3 separate regions of the Homo sapiens genome follow, and all the other regions are linked to region 3. The links are contacts of gene promoters, found by promoter capture Hi-C in blood cells and fetal thymus (Javierre and others, 2016). All regions are on one chromosome and are shown on one strand. The core of a region is centred on a gene start or on the middle of the fragment in contact, and the rest is flanking DNA. Distances in the headings are between cores, read along the strand shown. Region 1 has its middle 13 kb from the start of LINC02623. Region 2 has its middle 53 kb from the start of LINC01264. Region 3 holds the start of RET (ret proto-oncogene).

Region 1 (2,794 bases), core at 23-2,522, 190 kb before region 3:
TATCTATAGAGGATAGTTGTTATCTATCTGAACTTAGGGGAACTGGGGCCTTGTAACGGATTACAAGGTGATTCTGAGGCAGTATGCATGGAATGGTAGTGAGGAAGGGTCAGAGAGCAAGCTGGCCTAGAAGCCAACACTCAGGACACTGCAAGCTTGGTTTATTTTCCTTTCTCTCCCTCCCTTCTTTCCTAATTAATTTTATAAAACGTATAGGGATGGATTCAATAAGATTAAACTCATCTATTCGAAACATGGATTCTCAGGCTGTGTTTTTTTACATTTTTGTTTTGTTTTGTTTTGTTTTTAAAGCAAGCTATCTGCTATGAAGTGTTAACAGAAAGGAAGTGGGTGTGGGAAGCGACCAGTAAGGCAGGGAGAGGTGCATGGGGTGGGGTGGAGGGCAGTACCAGGTAACTTGGAAGGAGGTCATGCACCTGGAAGATGCAGCCACCAGCCTCAGTGAGACAACAGCAAACCTAGCATGTCCCCAGGCATGGTGGGAACTTTGAACATACCTCACTCTAAAATTTGCATCAAACAGAATAAAAATCATGAAAATAAATAGATCTGAAATACAGATTTTAAGTTTGGGCTGCTGGGCAGATACAGAATCCTGTACCCCATGCGCCGGGCATTAACATTTTTTCCAGCACAGATGGAACATTTATAATACTGACCATGAAGGTGGCCACAAAGGAGGCTTCAACAAATAGCAGAGATGATAAGCAGGACATGCTCTCTAATCACAATGCAATAATGTTAGAAGTCAATCACAGGAAGACTGCCTTGAGCCCAGTTACATCTGGAAAACACAATAACTCACGGGCCCGAGGAAAAACGGTAATGGAAAATACAAAAGATATAAACCAAGCAATGATAGAAGCAGCATATATTGACTCTCATGGGATGCAGGTAAAATGGCACTAGAGGGAAATTTATAACCTTAAGTGCTGTGTTAGAGAACAAGATAGAAGGCAAATTAATGAGCTCTGCGTTCAACAGCAGATGTTAGGAAAAGAGGCACAGAACAGGCTCAGGGAAGAGGCCGAAGGCAGAGCCGGGCTGGAGAAGGAGAGCTCAGGGAGGCTAAGAGCAGTGGCCTGGGGAAGGGGCCTGGGGCCGTGGGTCAAGGATGGAGTCCTGTTGGGAGTGTGGGGAGTGGGTCAGGGATGCTGGATTCAGCATTTGAGGATGGGCTGTGCTGTGTGGATGAACCATCAAGATAGACATCAGGCCCCCCAGAATTTGGCAAGACTGGAGGTAGAGCCAAGTGAATCCACGCCAGAGTCCTGGATTACTATGGGCCATGGCAGTGGTGTGGAGAGACCACTCAGACCTAATGAGCCTGCAAGACTGTGGGTTCCGTCTGCTTACAGGGGAGAGCTGGGATTTAAGGGAACAAAAGCCTTGGGGAAAGGGAGCGGGCTGCTCAGGGGAAGTGGATATCAGTGAAAGCCAGGTTTTGTTTAAGGTGAGATGTCCGTGCAAGTTGAGTGGAGGGGTCATGGGGCACCTGTTTCTCTGAGTCCCCAGGGGGCAGGGAGAGGGATGGGTTAGGGCTGGGTGGGGACCAGGGTGGCTGGTGGTGGTGGTTATACCCAAGCACAGCAGGGTTGAGACTGACAAGCTCATCCAGCTTCTGAATCCTGATGGAGGCCCCAGAGCCTGGTGCCCTGGGGACTCTGCGGAGGGTGGTGCAGGAGCACGGCCCTCAGGTGCTGGGAGTGAGGTGAGCAGGGTCACCCCACACCTGGCCTGCCCCTCCTCCCTTGAAACCAGCGGTGTGTCTGAGCACTGGGCCTGAAAGCATGGCATCTGGAGGCCCAAGGCTAATGCCCATGGCCTCCTCTGCCTGCTCTGCTTGTCCAGGGGCTGAGCTGTCCTGGTCTCTCCCTCTGCTCCTTCATGCAGAGGTCTTCAGAGCACCCTAATGTGTCCAATCAAGGCCAGGCTTGTTGGTGAGACACTCTCGGTCCCCAGCTCCATGCTAGATGTCTCCACCCTCAAAGGACCCAGCATCTCATGACTTCATGTCCCACTAGCAGTCCCTGTGCCCAGTTCACCCATCCCCACTGACCACCAATGTTTGATTTTTCCTTCAGAAGCATGTGAGGAAATGGATTGTTGATTAGCCTGATTCAATCATTCTACATTGTAAACATATCAAAGCATCACCTTGTATCCCATAAATGTATACAATTATTATTTGTCAATAAAAAATAAAATTAAAAAAGATTCAGTTCCCAGCTGCCTCCTCCAGGAAGCGTGCAGCACTCTCCCTTGCTGAGGACCAACTTTACACCAGTTCTTACCCTGGACCCTGCAGAGGGCAGAGGGCACTTGGGCTGCCCATCAGGGACACATCCATGCCTCTCTAGCTTTCTAGGAAGCTTCCTGTCTCAGCCCAGGACTTTGGGAAGGTGGAGGTAGTCACCTCCTACAGTCAGGACAGCTGCAGTTCAGAGGGAAGAGGCACAAAGTCCTCAGGTTGAAGTTACCCAGCTGGAATTTCCTTTCTCCCACTGAAAGAGGATGGTGATATTTGGGACTCAGGGTTGATGTCACCATGGGAGGTCTACTGGGACAGATGCTGGGATGTTGAGCTCATGCCTGCAGCTGTACACAGTGGGCAGTGTGGCTGTGGCTCTGGGCACCTCTTTCCTTGGTGCCAGATGTGCTGCCTGGCCCTGTATGTAGGAGGCTGGACCTGCTGGGCCTTGTGGCAGGGCCTCAGGGTCCTTCTGGTCACCTCTTCCTCCCTGCAGGTGCCTCTGCTTTTGAGAAACTCAAA
Region 2 (3,020 bases), core at 246-2,745, 150 kb before region 3:
CAATCTGTCTCATCCAGAAATGTCTGGAAGTGGTACCCAGCCCGTAGAGCAGCCCCTAGTCAGCCACTGAGTAATACAGGCACAAAATCCCCGCCCCCTTGCTTGGAGGTGGGGCCGCTCTGTGGTAGCTTTCGCATTCCAGAGCTCCCCTGGGACCAGGCTGAGGCTTCCACTGGATCCCTTGCCCGGCTTCTCCCCTGCCCTTCTAAGCTTCCCCTGAGAGCACTTTCTCAGCAAATCTCTTGCACATAGGCCTGTGTAATAGGTATGCATAGGCACACGTAGCTGTTCTCAGAGAGGAGCTCCTGCTCACTGAAGCAGAGGGTGGTGTCTTTCTTCACATGACAGCACCCCATGGCCACCTCTGAATGTGAGTCTACTTCACTTTCTTATGGCAGCAGAGCTCCCCCTGGAATTGATTAATAGCCCTATTAGTGAGATTGAGCTCATTCATTCATTAGACACATGGTTTATGAAGTGCTACTGTATGCCAAGTACTGCTTTAAGCACTGGGGCTGTCTCCAACTTTTCTCTCTTACAGAAGATCGGAATATTTTTAAAGCATATTCAAGCATTTGTGTAAATGGTTCTGAAGCACAGATTCCTGGAGATGGAATTGTGGGTCAGAGGGAAACTGCATTTGCAGCCAGGATGGGTGTCTCTTGGGGAAGTGTTCCTCCTTCAGCTCCAGCGACAGCTCCTTGCTTTGTGTCTACTTTTCTCCCCCATCTCTGCCTTGGCAACCTCTCCTCCCCAGCCCTTCCCACCTACCCAGGGAACACCTGAAACCCTGGCAGAGCTGCTGCTGAGCCCTCCCCCATGCTGCTGATCTGGGCATTTGCCCTTCCTGCTGCCTCAGGCCCTCAGAAACCAAGGCCTCCCAGCCTGTCTTCTCTCTGGTCCCTGGTTTACGGAAGAGGATGTTGGGATTCAGAGAGGTTAAGTGACCTACTTTTCTAGACCAATTTGTTCAAGTTCCTCCCAAACATCTCCACCAGCCTGTCCCAGAGGCACTTCAAATTCAGCATCCTGGATTATTCTCTTCATGTCTGCCCTAAAACTTGCCTTTTCTGTTCCCTATAATAAATGCCCAAGAGAAAATGTCCCATGACAGCTGACTCTCCCACCCCTCCTTGTCAGGCACAGGTCTCCTGAGCTCTCCTGAGCCTGTCTCCTGGGTCTGCCATTGTGACTGTCCCCTGCAGCCCTGATCTGGATTTGTGGCCACCAGCTCCCTTACTGCTTCCACCAGCTGGACATCCTTGGTCCTCACAGGCCCTGGAGAGTTCATCTTCCAGGGCTGCTGTCAGCATCCCCCCTTGGCTCAAGCAGCCCGCCGGGGACTCAGGAGGGCCGGTGGCACCAGAGGCCAGCGCAGTCCGACTCAGGTCATTCCATGCAGGCGCCTTTCAGGTCCTCAGGACCTGGGGACCAGCACCACACACAGCTGTGGGTCCTCTCGAGCCAATACCATGTCTCAGCCCCTGTAGCCTGCCCCGTGCTGCCCTCCTCTTACCTCGCAGGACCTCCTTTCTTGGCCCCCTGGATAGCTGCCTCTTCCTTTCCAGGACAGCCTGGGACTCTGGGATTTGCCAATATATGTGTGGGGCATCAGAGGAGCTGAGTGCTGCCTGTGAAGGGCATTGACGACGTGTCGGGGAAATGGGAAAGGATGGGAGGGTAGACATCCGGGTTGGTGTCCTAGAGATCCAAGACGCGCAGCTCACCATGCTGCTTGCCTTCAGGTGCCTCATTGGTAAGTCAAAGGCAACAGATAGAGGCTCCCAGAAGGCCCTTCCCAGAGAGCAACTCTTTAGAGATCTAAGCATCTTCGGAGAAAATTTGGGAGCTTGGATGGTTTGTATCAGGCCTCTGTTTTTTCTTGGACTCTTTTGGGTATCTTCATGCCCCTCGAGTGCTTATCAGGATGCCACACGGCACAGCAGGTGGTGAATATATGTGTCATAAGTGAGCGAGAAGCAAGGCTTTTCATCAGGGAAAGTATGACTTCTCTGATGGAGCAATGTCACTCCATTTTACTTACCTGCAGGAATGTTTAACACGAGAGTGACCAGGACACTGCAAGTGGCTGTGTTAGTTGGTAAACCTTTTCAGAGGACAGTTTAGTAATCCATATGGAAAGTTCTAAAATTATGCAATGCCTTTAATTTTACTTACTGAAATTCTAAAGAAATAATTAAGGATGTGTGTAAGATTTAGTGGAAGGTTGATCTTTGCAAGGGCTATTTATAATAAAGTTGAAAACAACCTGTGTCCAATAACAGGAGATTGGTTAACTAAGTTCTGGAACTTAGATACAATGGAATTCTGAGTAGCCACTAAAAATTATGTTATTGAAGTATATTTCGGGTGTGGGAAAAAAGTCGTAATAAGTTACTGAATTGAGTCATGTTATAAAATAGTATGTACTTAATGGAAACATTTTAGAACAAAAATGTATATGCTACACATTTTTAAACATCTGTGAGGGTCTTGCTACTCAAAGTGTGGTCCCCGGACCAGCTGTTTCTGCATCATTGGGAGCTTGTCAGAATCACAGAACTGCAGCCCAGCACAACCTCAGGTGATTCCCATGCAGAGAGGTCCCAACGCTGGGTTGCGGCACCCACACAAACATCACATCTGTGTGTGGGGCTACTAGGAGTCTATTATTTCCCCTTTTTGCTTATTTATTTGTGGCAACTGTATGTTACTGACATAATAAAGAAAAAAGAAAGATGGACACACTCTGAAAAACACACAGTGGGCTTCATTGTCATGGAAGCTTTCCTGGCTCTTTCCTGTCTGGGACGCCCTCACTGAGTTCACTTTAAGTCCCGCTCCTTCTTGGGTGCATTTGACTCTGGTATGGGGGGCTCTTGGCTTGAAGAGTGGCACTTTCAGAATCACTGCTGCTTTCAAAGGGGCTCTGCTCCTGCCAGACAGGGTGGAGACTGAAGGCCCAAGGGCCTTCGGTCCCCCAGACCCCACCCAGGGCATGGGCCAGGCCCCTTGCTTGC
Region 3 (2,816 bases), core at 302-2,801:
CACCTAGGAGGCAATCACAGGAGCTTGTCTGTAGCCAAAAGATGCCCCCAGCCCCTCCCTACCTATCAGGTCCCTTCCCTGGGCACAGGCCTGAGTGTGTAGCCTAGGTAGCCACTGGCACCAGAGATGGAACCTGTCTGAACCCAAGGGAGCCCCTTGTGGCCAACTCTAGCTCCATAAACTGGAAGGGTGTGGCAGGCAGCCGGAGTCCAGTGGCCCACAGTGTCTCTCCTGGGCTGGCAGGCCTGTGCCCCGGCCACCTGCCCCTCAGCAAGCCAGGTCTGGACATCACGGTTGGCTGAGTGCAAGCCAGCCTCTGTCTTGGCAGCTCCCCCTCCTGCCTGTGAGGGTGACTTCACTTTGACTTCATATCTGCAGTGATGTGCAGATCACTTATTCAGCCCTGAGCTCAGCCAGGCAAGAGGGCGGGGTTCTGCACACAGCAAGCAAGGGAGCGGCTGGCTCAAGGGTGCCCTGGGCCCAGGTTCCCTGGCTTTTCCTCCTCAAGGGCCCATGGGCTTCCCTTCTTCCATCCCTCTGCGCCTAAGTGCAGGCCAGACCTCAAAAAGCAGCCGGGGATGGGGCGAGAACAGAGGACTTCCCCACTGAGCCCACATCCAACCTCACCCAGAACCCCTTCTCAGGTCCAGTTGCTGCTCCCTATTAGGGGTAAATGTGTTTATGCGCATCATTTCCATCATTTCTTTGGGGGAAAATTGGATTCTTTCCTCCTCCTCGCTACTCGCTCTCCGACTCTGCCAGCCCATCTCCTGAGAGTTCTCCTGTGTAAGGGATGCAAGGGCCACCAGCACCAGGTCTCTGAAAGGACGCCGGAGCCAGTTTCCGGTTTCCAAGGGTTGGACCAGTGCTGGAGGGGGGAATCACAAACTGCCCTTCCAGGACCCTACCCTCTCTACTACCCCAGGATGCTGAAAAAGGCTATTCTGCCTCTCTTCCCCTGCTCAGCTCTTCCCCGCCTCCTGCCTCCGGCCCCAGCAGAGGCCGCGCTCCCACTGCGCCTCTCGCCTCTGAGAAATGGCGCAGCAAGCGCTCCGCGGAGAGCCTGGAGGCGGGGCGCCCTTCTCTGAGTCCGCGGGGTCGCACCCCGAGCCAGTCGGCCAGACCTGCATCCCGCGTAGCATCCCTGCCCTCTCTGTGCAGCGGAAAGGGCAAAAGGCAGGGACTGCAAGCGGGCGCGCACCGGGTAGGAAGAGCGGCTCTGCGTAGGTGCGCGGACCCGGGCTCCTGGGTTCCATCCCCGCCGCGCACCTCGGGGTCCGCACCCGGCTCCTGCCGGGCCCTTTTCGGCCGCACCCCGCTCCCGCACCCCGCTCCTCCCCAAGCCCCACCCGGCCCAAGCCGCGCGTCCCGCACTGAGCTCCTACACGCGCCGCGCCCCGGCCGCACCCCGCGCAGCCAGAGCAAGCACTGGAGCCCCGCCCCTTCCCGCACCCCACCCGCCTCCGGCCCCGCCTGGCCCACCCCTGGACCGCCCCCGCCCCGCCCCGCCCCTACCCGCTCCTCCGGCGCAGCCGGCGCTTACCTCGCTTCAGTCCCGCGACCGAAGCAGGGCGCGCAGCAGCGCTGAGTGCCCCGGAACGTGCGTCGCGCCCCCAGTGTCCGTCGCGTCCGCCGCGCCCCGGGCGGGGATGGGGCGGCCAGACTGAGCGCCGCACCCGCCATCCAGACCCGCCGGCCCTAGCCGCAGTCCCTCCAGCCGTGGCCCCAGCGCGCACGGGCGATGGCGAAGGCGACGTCCGGTGCCGCGGGGCTGCGTCTGCTGTTGCTGCTGCTGCTGCCGCTGCTAGGCAAAGGTGAGTTCTGCCGGCCGCCGGCTCCCGCAGGGGCCAGGGCGAAGTTGGCGCCGAGCAGCGGAGCGGGCGCGTTCAGAAGCGCCTTTCTGTTTGCCGTGGGCAGCGGGCTGTGCGGTCGCCGGCCACCCGGCCTCGGCTGGGAGCGCAGTGGCTGCGGCGGGCGGCGGGCGAAGGGCAGGACGCCTCGGGCCGGGCGCCTCGGGCCGGGGCTGGGCGGGTCTCGGGCGGGAGCGGAGCGCGGGCCGGGCCGCGGGGGTCGGTGCTCAGAACCCTAGCCATAGCCGCAGGTCTCAATCTGGCCGCGCCCTGCGCCAAAGCCGCGTCCTGGAGCAAACGGGACAGCCGTTTCGGGGCCGACCTGGCGGACGGGTCAGGGAGCCCCGAAAGCCCGCGATTCGTGCGGAGAGTTCTGTTTCGGCAGGAGACGGCTCCGTCCTGGTTTCCTTTTCCCGCTCAGCGTCCGTGCGTTCCTCCCCCAGCTCTGCCGTCCTGGCCAGCCGAGGGATTCGGAGGCTCTTTTGAAAAGATTGCTTTTCCCTCGTGCGTTTTTGCCGCCCTGTCTTTAAACACCTAAAAACCGTGGTTTCTGGGGTGGCTCCCCCCGAGGGGCCGCCGTGATAGGCGTCCCACCCGGCAGCCCTGGAGTCGTGTGGCGCTGCCTGGCAGAGATGCTGAAGATGCGGCCATAGGAGGCCCAGGGCTTGGGGTGGGGCAGGGGTTTGCGCCGCCAGCCAGCGTTGGTGCTGGGCCTGGTGAAACCTCAGGTGCCTTAGGATCCCAGCATTAGGTGTGGCCTTGCAAAGATGGTCATCGACCCCACCCAAACTCTGGCAGAGTGAGCCGCAAGGCTGTGGAATCTTTGACCCCTTGGCACGCGTTTAAGTGTCCCTCAAACTGGCCCTGACTTGATCCCCTCCAAGCGCTTGTGTATGAACCAAGTTTCCCTCTAAGAGGGAAGGAGCCCTGGCCATCCTCCCTCACTCCTTACAAAGGGCTTTCTCT

Evidence for each region. The method cuts DNA at HindIII sites, captures the fragments that hold promoters and counts their contacts. A CHiCAGO score of 5 or more calls a contact.
Region 1: a contact is called between a fragment that was not itself captured here and the fragment with the promoter of RET in region 3, in 4 of 17 cell types (M0 macrophages, M1 macrophages, M2 macrophages and 1 more). The highest score is 11.4, in M0 macrophages.
Region 2: a contact is called between a fragment that was not itself captured here and the fragment with the promoter of RET in region 3, in 2 of 17 cell types (M1 macrophages and M0 macrophages). The highest score is 6.3, in M1 macrophages.

What each region holds. Positions count from the first base shown.
Region 1 is chr10:42,883,072-42,885,865 of GRCh38, forward strand. No RefSeq gene overlaps it. Among named protein-coding and RNA genes, the nearest start is that of LINC02623, 13 kb to the left of the region's middle. RefSeq lists an enhancer at 2,457-2,794. The HindIII fragment of the contact is 2,238 bases long and covers 154-2,391 here.
Region 2 is chr10:42,926,858-42,929,877 of GRCh38, forward strand. No RefSeq gene overlaps it. Among named protein-coding and RNA genes, the nearest start is that of LINC01264, 53 kb to the right of the region's middle. The HindIII fragment of the contact is 2,575 bases long and covers 209-2,783 here.
Region 3 is chr10:43,075,518-43,078,333 of GRCh38, forward strand. It overlaps RET (ret proto-oncogene), which reads left to right and starts at 1,552. Exons shown (of 20, transcript NM_020975.6): 1 at 1,552-1,814. The coding sequence starts at 1,742. RefSeq lists enhancers at 609-875, 741-1,598, 1,907-2,816 and promoters at 1,091-1,774, 1,476-1,774. The HindIII fragment of the contact is 20,268 bases long and covers 1-2,816 here.